Linked DNA regions of Homo sapiens: regions 1 and 2 are each linked to region 3. Evidence: promoter capture Hi-C in 16 types of primary human blood cells and fetal thymus (Javierre and others, 2016). All regions are on one chromosome and are shown on one strand. The core of a region is centred on a gene start or on the middle of the fragment in contact, and the rest is flanking DNA. Distances in the headings are between cores, read along the strand shown. Region 1 overlaps TUT7 (terminal uridylyl transferase 7). Region 2 overlaps TUT7 (terminal uridylyl transferase 7). Region 3 holds the start of QNG1 (Q-nucleotide N-glycosylase 1).

The links. Contacts are between HindIII fragments. The CHiCAGO score rates a contact against its expected background, and 5 or more counts as called.
Region 1: a contact is called between a fragment that was not itself captured here and the fragment with the promoter of QNG1 in region 3, in 1 of 17 cell types (neutrophils). The highest score is 7.3, in neutrophils.
Region 2: a contact is called between a fragment that was not itself captured here and the fragment with the promoter of QNG1 in region 3, in 1 of 17 cell types (total CD4 T cells). The highest score is 6.3, in total CD4 T cells.

Annotation. Positions count from the first base shown.
Region 1 is chr9:86,302,690-86,305,721 of GRCh38, forward strand. TUT7 (terminal uridylyl transferase 7) reads right to left here. Exons shown (of 27, transcript NM_024617.4): 23 at 2,503-2,550; 24 at 2,167-2,258; 25 at 397-512. Among named protein-coding and RNA genes, the nearest start is that of ISCA1, 22 kb to the left of the region's middle. The HindIII fragment of the contact is 3,720 bases long and covers 1-3,032 here.
Region 2 is chr9:86,318,846-86,321,987 of GRCh38, forward strand. It overlaps TUT7 (terminal uridylyl transferase 7), which reads right to left. Exons shown (of 27, transcript NM_024617.4): 15 at 739-825; 16 at 113-213. Among named protein-coding and RNA genes, the nearest start is that of TUT7, 34 kb to the right of the region's middle. The HindIII fragment of the contact is 1,659 bases long and covers 922-2,580 here.
Region 3 is chr9:83,955,081-83,958,072 of GRCh38, forward strand. QNG1 (Q-nucleotide N-glycosylase 1) reads right to left here and starts at 1,662. Exons shown (of 4, transcript NM_032307.5): 1 at 1,084-1,662; 2 at 301-560. The coding sequence starts at 1,420. The HindIII fragment of the contact is 8,080 bases long and covers 1-2,992 here.

The DNA of each region.
Region 1 (3,032 bases), core at 32-2,531, 2.3 Mb after region 3:
CACTGCAATCTCTGCCTCCCGGGTTCAAGCGATTCTGCAGCCTCAGCCTCCCAAGTAGCTGGGACTACAGGTGCCCGCCACCATGCTTGGCTAATTTTTAGTAGAGATGAGGTTTCACCATGTGGGTCAGGCTGGTCTTGAACTCCTGACCTCAGGTGATCCACTCGCCTTGGCCTCCCAAAGTGCTGGGATTACAGGCGTGAACCACTGCACCCGGCCTAAAGTCATGTTTTAAATCACTTCATTTCATTAAAAAATAAAATAAAAAACTTAAATGTATCTGAAAACTGCTGGATTTTACACAAGTGTATTTTCTTTGTTATAATAGTACCTCATTTAAAAATTGGGACATTAAGAAAATAAAAACACAACCAACCCCTTTGAACATTTACTTACTTTCTCCTCATAGGACAGTCCTTCATGAAGTGTCCGATTTTTCCACAAATTCGACAACATCTATCATTTGGGGCCAGCTCTCCTTCAGTTAACACATCTGGATCAAAAAAGTATTCCTAGAAGAACATAAATATATAAAAGCCTGAACTATTCACGTGAGATCGGAACACAAAACTAACCAGATATTAAACAGTTATCTTACAATTCAATGTTGATATAACATTACTTTTAATAAATATTATTTATACTGCTTAATTCCAAACAAAATCTAAGACCATCAAGGTCTAACTCAGGATAGTTTTAACTAAATCCATTTTTGTTTATTCCTTTTAGTCATGCAGAGCACTCGTGAGCCCTAACCCTAAAGGTTTAAGCACACTTCTAAAGAAGCGGATGAGTCAGCTTTTCAGGATGTGGGAGGGAGTTGAGGCCAGGTACACAGGCTTTGTCTCCTCATCAAATGAAAAGGCTAAAACATAATGAATTGAGAAACATGATTTGCATCATACAGATTATATTGAAGAAAAGAAAAAAAACTATGTGTTTCTACTTTGCTTAGTTGTGGCTGCTGAAGGAAAAATAACAGAACAAAGGAAAGATAATGGTCTAGCCTGTAGCCTCTTTGTACTAAAATTAAGGTGGAGGCCAGCAACATGAGCATCCCCAGGGAGCTTGCTGGAAAAGCAGTCTTGAGCCTGATCCTAGACCTGCTGAATCAGAATCTGCACTTTAACAAAATCCTCAGGTGATTTGTTCGAACAAGTTTCAGAAGCACTGGTGTAGAAGCCACATCAATATCTACCATAAATCAGATGTACAGATGTAATCAAACACTGAATGTGCCTATAAAGCAATACACTTACGTTAAATTTTAAAAGTCTTCACTGGGAGTACAGAGGGAATAGGGGGTTGCTGGTCAAAGGGTACAAAGTTTCAGATAGACAGGAGGAATAAGTTTTGAGATCTATTGCGCAGCAGGGTGACTATAGTCAATAATAGTGTATATTTCAAGATAACTAAGAGTAAATCTCAAATGTCTCCCCACAAAAAATGGTGAGGTGATATATATATGTTAATTAACTTGATTTCATCATTCCATATACATGTATCAAATCATCACGTTGTGCTCCATAAACTGTATGTCAATTAAAAATAAGAATAAAAAGTATAAGGAAATTAATGCAGAAGAACATAATATTATTCTTAGCAAGATCATCTAGTCCCTAGCCATTTTTCTCTCACTGAAATTATTTTTTTGACATAATTTTGCTTTGTTTTCAATAAATGTGGTTCCTGAAAAACTCGAGTATCAAGTTACATGAGAAGAGATAGCTGTCTGCTACAGGAAGCACTGTTAACCCCCTAGTCCCAGCAAAAGATTTACTACTTTTTGCAAGCAGATTGGAAAATCTAGATTCTAGATATGTACAAACTGGGCTTGGCCAAGGCTGGCATCAAGCCGAATGCTGGCAGAACAGCAATGCACCTATGAAGGCTAGCACAGATAACCAGAAAAAAAAAAGGCATCAAAGAGGAAAACAAGAATTTAACAACCTTAAATCCAACTTCTTACTATTTCTCTCTATTCTGATGGCCTCTACCCGGGGATGTTTAAGAAAAAGGGGGGCTCTGGGAATCATTCTGTACAATAGTCATTTACTTTGGCTAGACTCACAGACTTTCTAAATATTTAAGTTACTACTGAAGTGATGTGTACAAATTAGGCACTTTTTTTTATTTTTTATTTTTTGGTATTTCCAACACACTTACCATTTTTGAGGGGTAGTCCTTTGGAAATCCCTTGACAGGAATACCAAATACTCTTCTACCATTGATAAAAGCCTTCATTATAAAATTTGTCACTAAAAAGAAGAGTAAGAACTCACTTAGGCGGGTTAAAAGGAAAAGAGATTGTATTACAAATGACAAACTACCTGGGCCTGGTGGCGCCTGTTATTCTAGCACTCTGGGAGGCTGGGGTAGGTGGATCACTTGAGCCCAGGAGTTTGAGACCAGCCTGGGCAATAAAAGCAAGACCCTGTCTCTATTATAAAAGTAAATACATAAGTAAAATAAAAAATAAAATTGACAAACGAAGTAACTCACTTTTCCTTGATAATCCAGCTCCAAGATTATGATTCAAATCAAAGGGATCTAAGCAAAAAAATTTAAGAGCAAATAAGGTAATCAAATAGAAAATGCCACCATTCATCCAATAAGTAAAGTTCATAAAACAAGACAAGAATATCATCTACTTTGCTTATCATTAATAAGTTTTAAATTCACATGATAGAAAAGAAGTGCAAAAAAAAGTTTAAAATGACACCTGTTAAATGAGCTTAGAAGTTATAATAAAGCTAAGCAATACATATTCCTAAACAGAAGGCAAGTTTTTCCACTACACTGTTCATCAGAATAGAGTGTACTACTTTATATTTAAATCATTATAAAGCTCTTTATGTTATGACTGGCTGCCTATTTTTGAACAAAATACTGTTTGCAGAAGACACATTAGCCTGATATTACTTAATGACACTAGTTTTGGATGTATATAGAAGTTATAAATACATTTAAAACATTTTGGCACTAAATGTTCCCACTATGTAACAAATTTCTTAAAGATCACTTCAGAAAAT
Region 2 (3,142 bases), core at 501-3,000, 2.4 Mb after region 3:
CACTCTATATGGTATGCCCTGATAAATTTGGAAAATACCAAGCTGTAATGCCAGTCTAGATTGGTTAAATCACACTGCCACAGCAAATGGAAGTTTTATGTGGTCACTGTACCTCAGCAGTTTCAAGTCCATTAATTGTCATACAGACGTCAAGGTCACTCTGTTTGAACCCAAATCCATTTTTGGAGGAGCCAAACAGGCTCAATTTAGTTCCTGTTAGGGATATATGAAAAGTAATAACTAATTACCTGAGTACATTTAATTTTTGATCAAAATGGCCCTCTCATGAATCAAAAACACCCAGTTGTTTAATTATCCTATATTAATCTCATACTTATGTTCTCTGATTAACTGGTCATTTATGCTAAAGTCTTTTTCTCTCAAAGCTTCCTTTACATACAAGCTGTATATGGCAAGAAAGATTACCAGGTGCTCCTTTATTCTTAAATGCAAAGACATTTCAAGGAAAATGTTAGATCACCTCAACACATTTAATAATGTAAGCTTAACTTTGACTCTAAACATAGTATTAAATGAAATTCACTTATGGCACTTGCTAGAATAAACCCTACACTGTTTCTGTTGGTAAATGAGGATTTGGCAGACCAAGGACCATCCTGGGTATATTGCAAAACAATGGAAATCCTGATTCTCAAAATCAGTGTGCTTGTAACACATGAACTGATTTGGAAAAAAGGTTACACTACTTTTCTTAAAAATAAAAAATAAATCATTTACCTGGAAAGTCCTGTCTTATGAAACTTTCTAGGTTTTGCCGAATATGTTCACGAGCCTGATCTTCTATAATTGTTGGAGAAAAATCCTCTGTTTAAAAATAAATAGACATATTGACAAAATAAGCCGGTTGACACTCTTAGAAAAAGCTGAAAAAAATTTATTTTTTAGAAAATAAAACTTACAAGCTTAAATTTAAAAATTCCTAAATCATTGTGTCTTCTCAGTAGATAGCATTAACAAGGTAAAGTTTGTTTTTTATTTATTTTTGAGATAAGGTCTGGTTCTGTCGGCCAGGCTGCAGTGCAGTAGTGTGATCTTAGCTTACTGCAACCTCTGCCTCCCAGGCTCAAGCCATCTTCCCACCTCAGCCTCCCGAGTAGCTGGGACTATAGGCATGTACCACCATGCCTGGCTAATTTTTGTAACAGTAATGTAAAATTTAAGATGTCCTTTTTTAAAGAATCTAAGAAGTGCTCTTGAAACGGAAAGTAATTTAAACATGGGATCTCCACCTGGGTTTCCTGAAAGACACCAGGGTTACAGAAAGGGCCTTCAGAAATCACCACCCCGCTAAAGTGTGAATTTAAAAGTTTGTGAGCATTTGCATGTATTTTTTTCCCTAAGGAGAACCTAGTTTTTTTAATAGCTCATAATATAAAAAAAAAAAATTTCCCAAAAAAAAAAAAAAAAGGACTTGTTAAGAACACGTGTCTTCTGACACGGATGAACACCTTATGATGAAGCCATGTGAAACAAGTTCCTTCATTTTAAGCAGCTGAACATCTATCCTTTAAATATTTTCTTTTGTAAAACTTTAAGGCTCTCTACACCAATGCTTCCCCAAATTTGTGTTCCTTAAAGGGCTGTTAAGTAGGCTATTAATTAGCGTTACTCAAAAATTATTCTATGTTCAAATTTTAGAAATAATATTTCTCAGATACCTTCAATATGCTAATATGTCCTGGAAATAACCCAGGAATTCTAAGAGAGAAGGGAGTGTGTAGTGTTATTCCCTCGCTGGCCTAGGTATACTTCTGGTGATGAAATATTATTAACTGCCATCTAGAAAAACATTTCAAAGAATGCCAGCTGGGAAATGCTACTACTCTAATTTTAAGACTTAATAAAAGATCCTCAGCAAGGCAACTTTCGGCCCCTCACAGAGACAGTACTTTGAAATTCATATTGAGATTTTACCCTCTCTTCCAACGATTTTGGGAAAATTATGAACTGAGACTCTTCAGAAAATATCTTTCTTCTGGAAAAAAATGTCGCTCCCTTACCCTCATCCTTACTTTGTATCCTGGCTTATAACAGGCCATGCATTTTTGTAGCAAACTTTTCAAAAACAATTATATAACCTGGTCCCTTCTTTCTGGGGCCTGGATCTGCTTACACAGCAGGAAGAATAACACCACCAACCTTTACATAGCCCAGCTAGCCAGGGAAGTGTGTCCAGGCTTCAAGTAACTTGAATTTTAATTTTTGGCCGGGAGCGGTGGCTCACGCCTGTAATCCCAGCACTTTGGGAGGTCAAGGCGAGCGGATCACTGGAGGTCAGGAGTTTGAGACTTGCCTGGCCAATATGGTGAAACCCCATCTCTACTAAAAAAAAAAAAAAAAATTAGCTGGACATGGTGGTGCATGACTGTAATTCCAGCTACTCAGGAGGCTGAGGCAGGAGAATTGCTTGAACCCAGGAGGTGGAGGTTGCAGTGAGCTGAGATCGCACCACTGCACTCCAGCCTGGGTGACAGAGCTAGACTTTGTCTCAAAAAAAAAAAAATTTTTTTTCTTGGCAGAGTAATGGAAAATTTAAATGGGGAAAGATATTTAATACTAAGCTTTAAAAAGAAACCTGCTGGCCAGGCGCCATGGCTCAAGCCTGTAATCCCAGCTCTTTCGGAGACTCAGTTGGATGAATCACTTGAGGTCAGGAGTTTGAGACCAGCCTGGCCAACGTGGTGAAACCCTGTATCTACAAAAAATATAAGAATGAGCTGGGTGTGGTGATGCATGCCTGTAATACCAGCTACTTGGGTGGTTGAGGCAGAAGAATTGCTTGAGTCCAGGAGTTAGAGGCTGTGGAGAGCTGATATTGCGCCACTGCATTCCAGCCTGGGGGACCGAGCAAGACCCTGTCTCACCATCACCCTCCAAAAAAGGAAACCTGCTATGATTGCTATGTATCTTGATGCAACAACTATGCTGTTAATAAAAGGAAGTACAGAAGGCACTTGATATTAAAAGAAAAATAAAAGATCCTCCATTTGCCTGAGCCCAGGAGTTCAAGACTAGCTTGGGTAACACAGGGAAACTGTGTCTCTACAAATAATGAAAAATTTAGTCAGGCATAGTGGCATGCATCTGTGCTCCCAGCTACTTGGGAGGCTGAGGTGAGAGG
Region 3 (2,992 bases), core at 412-2,911:
CCAAGCTACTCGGGAGGCTGAGGCAGGAGAATCGCTTGAACCCGGGAGGCAGAGGTTGCGGTGAGCCAAGATCACGCCACTGCACTCCAGCCTGCGCAACAAGAGCAAAACTCTGTCTCAAACAAACAAACAAAAGAAAACATAAGAAATGACTTTGAAACACTACTTGATTTTGTTAGTTTCTTCCACAAGGAATACATTTAAAAATTTAAGTTTTTATTCTTAAAATGAGTTCTGGAAGTAAAAGAGTTAACTCTGAGATGATTAAGACTTCTAAAATCCCCAACAGAAGCAACTCACCTCAAACAGAGTCACATCTCTGTAAGAAGGAAAACTTTCAACCACCAGGTGCATTAACTTCTGCGCACTATTCTCACTTTCTCGGACGCAGTTGAGAAAAGAGCCTCCAAACTTCTCCAGCAGAATTTTCCCGGTTTCATTGAGAATCCGATGCCTCTCTTCTACTAAAGGCATGGAAACGTCTGTGTCAGAACGAAGTATATTCCGAACCTGATCCAGGGTCACTGTCGCGTAGTACGAGGCACTAGTTATTGGTATCCCTTTAGTGAAAAAATAAAATTCAGAGGACCAATGTCATACTTCCATATGCATTAAACCCTTGCTTTTACAACATGGAATTAATATGAAACCAAATGAGTGGTATAGGAATGCACCAAAAGTGGAAGAATAAAAAATCTAAAGCAAAACTCATTTTCTACTTGTTCATCTGTACTTATTCACCCATTTCTAACTATTGCAATATTACATCAGATGTATTCTGAGTAAATTGCTTTATAACATCGGTCCTTTTGTTCTTCAGGTGTCATTCAAATGGCATTCTTTATAAAACTGACTTTTATGCTACTGTAACTTTTATGCTGCAATGATAAATATTAACATCATTTTCCACTAAAATATGCCCCTTTTCATACTTCTATTTTAAGCATAAGGACTTGCAACGAACTTCAGGTTCGCTTTCCATTATTCCATCTCCCAACCCGCTCCTTGGAACTCCCCTACACACACCCCAAGTAAATGGAAACCTCAAAGGCCGTTAGGTCCGATGGCAAGTATGGCACCAACCTTCGTCGAGGGCTCTGTTGACGGCGGCGCACAGGGACCAGTACCCACTGTATGTTTTCCCTCTGTACCTCACCACACACTTGTGCTCGTCCTGCTCCGACCAAAAGGAGAAGTTGAGCGTGTCTGTCACGAACACCCAGTTGACCGCGGCCTCGTCGGCCGCCCTGGGGTTCAGCTCATGAAGGGCTTTCCACCCCTCCACGCGCAGCTCTGGCCCCGCCGCCTTGGCCAGCAGCAGCTCTGCCACCCTCCGTACGCCTCCGCTGTCAATAAACACATCCCGACTGTTTTCTGCAATGAATTTAGAGGATTCCCTGGGATTTAGGAGCCCGTCCATTCTGCCCTTTGGGACCCGGCGGGCCAAACTCTTCCCGCCCTAGGCGGGTCAAGGTCCACTCTGCGCCTTGCGCTACTACGAACCGCGCGATCACAGGGCCTAAACAAGGTCCCGCCCTGCCAGGGAGTGGCACCGAGAACTTAGTGCAGCCAAGGTAAAGGTTCTCTCCCGCGGCGTTGCCCTGATTAGGAAACCAGAGAGACCCCGGGGCAGCTCGCTGGGCAGAGGCCGCAAGCACTTCCGGGAAAGCGGTCCCGTTCACGCCCTCTCGGGCGCGCTCTCAGGCTCCGCTTCCGGTTCCAAAGGTCTGGAAACTGCTAAGGGTCCGGCGTTCACCGGCCGTGAGTTGCCCACCCTGGGAGGTGCATGGCTTTGCCATGTTTTGCCTTTTCTCACCCCGCTTCGGACAGGTGGGACTCGAAGACGGCGACTCGCCGCCTTGCCCTGGGTCGCGATGCCCCCACCCCGCTCCCACCCCTCTCCTTTCCCGCAGCCTGAGCAAGACGCCTTCGGCAACGCCCCGCATCCGGGCTCCTTGGCCTCGAAGAGCATTATGGCCGTAGATCTGGGTGCTGAGGACTGAGCCACCCCCAGACTGCGACATGGGCGGCGGTGCCTCCTTCCCCAAGCCCCAGGGAGTGTTTTTTTGTTTGTTTTGTTTTTTGTTTTTGTTTAAGTGAATTCCTGGCCCATTTGGCCGAACGAACGTTAGGATTAGTTGGAAGGTTTGGAGAAATGGATGAGGAAACAAATGTGTTAAATTGTTAAATTAACCTTGTGTGCCTGGCAGTGTACTTAAGTACTAAATCTCACCTAGGCTGGGTCATGACGAAAGCGGCTATTGTGATCCCGCTTTTGCAAGTGAAGCTGAGTGGTTCATTGATTAACCCCCATCACAGCAATGGTTTGGGCTAGGATTTAAACCTTTGATAATTGAGCCCCCTAAATCGAGGGCACTTTATGAGCCAATCACCAGTGCCAACCATTCTGGTCAGTCAAATAGTGACTATATCAGTGGCCCTACTGAGAAGACATTAAAAATGAGGAAATAAGTGTCTCACAACTGCAAACTTACACAAGTACCTTATATTAGGAGAGAGGTGTAGAAGCCAATTTAGTGATGATCCAAATTTGACTGGTGATGAAGTTTTAGTATAAAGGTATGCATTTTTTTTCCTTTTGGAGACTTAAATCTCCATGGATAACGTTCACATCTTTGAAAATCACCTATTAAAAATAATCATCAGTACCCATCTCTAGTTACCGACAGGAAAATCTTGGTATTTTTGGAGGATTCGGAGCTTTTAAATTTGTTTGTTTGAGACAGAATCTCACCCTGTCGCCCAGGCTGGAGTGCAGTGGCATGATCTCAGCTCACTGCAACCTCCACCTCCCCGGTTCAAGTGATTCTCCCTGCCTCAGCTTCCCAAGTAGCTGGGATTATAGGTGTCAGCCACCACACCTGACTAATTTTTGTATTTTTAGTAGAGATGGGGTTTCCCTATGTGGGCCAGGCTGGTCTCAAACTCCTGACCTCAGGTAATCCACCCTCCTCGGCCTCCCAAATGGAGC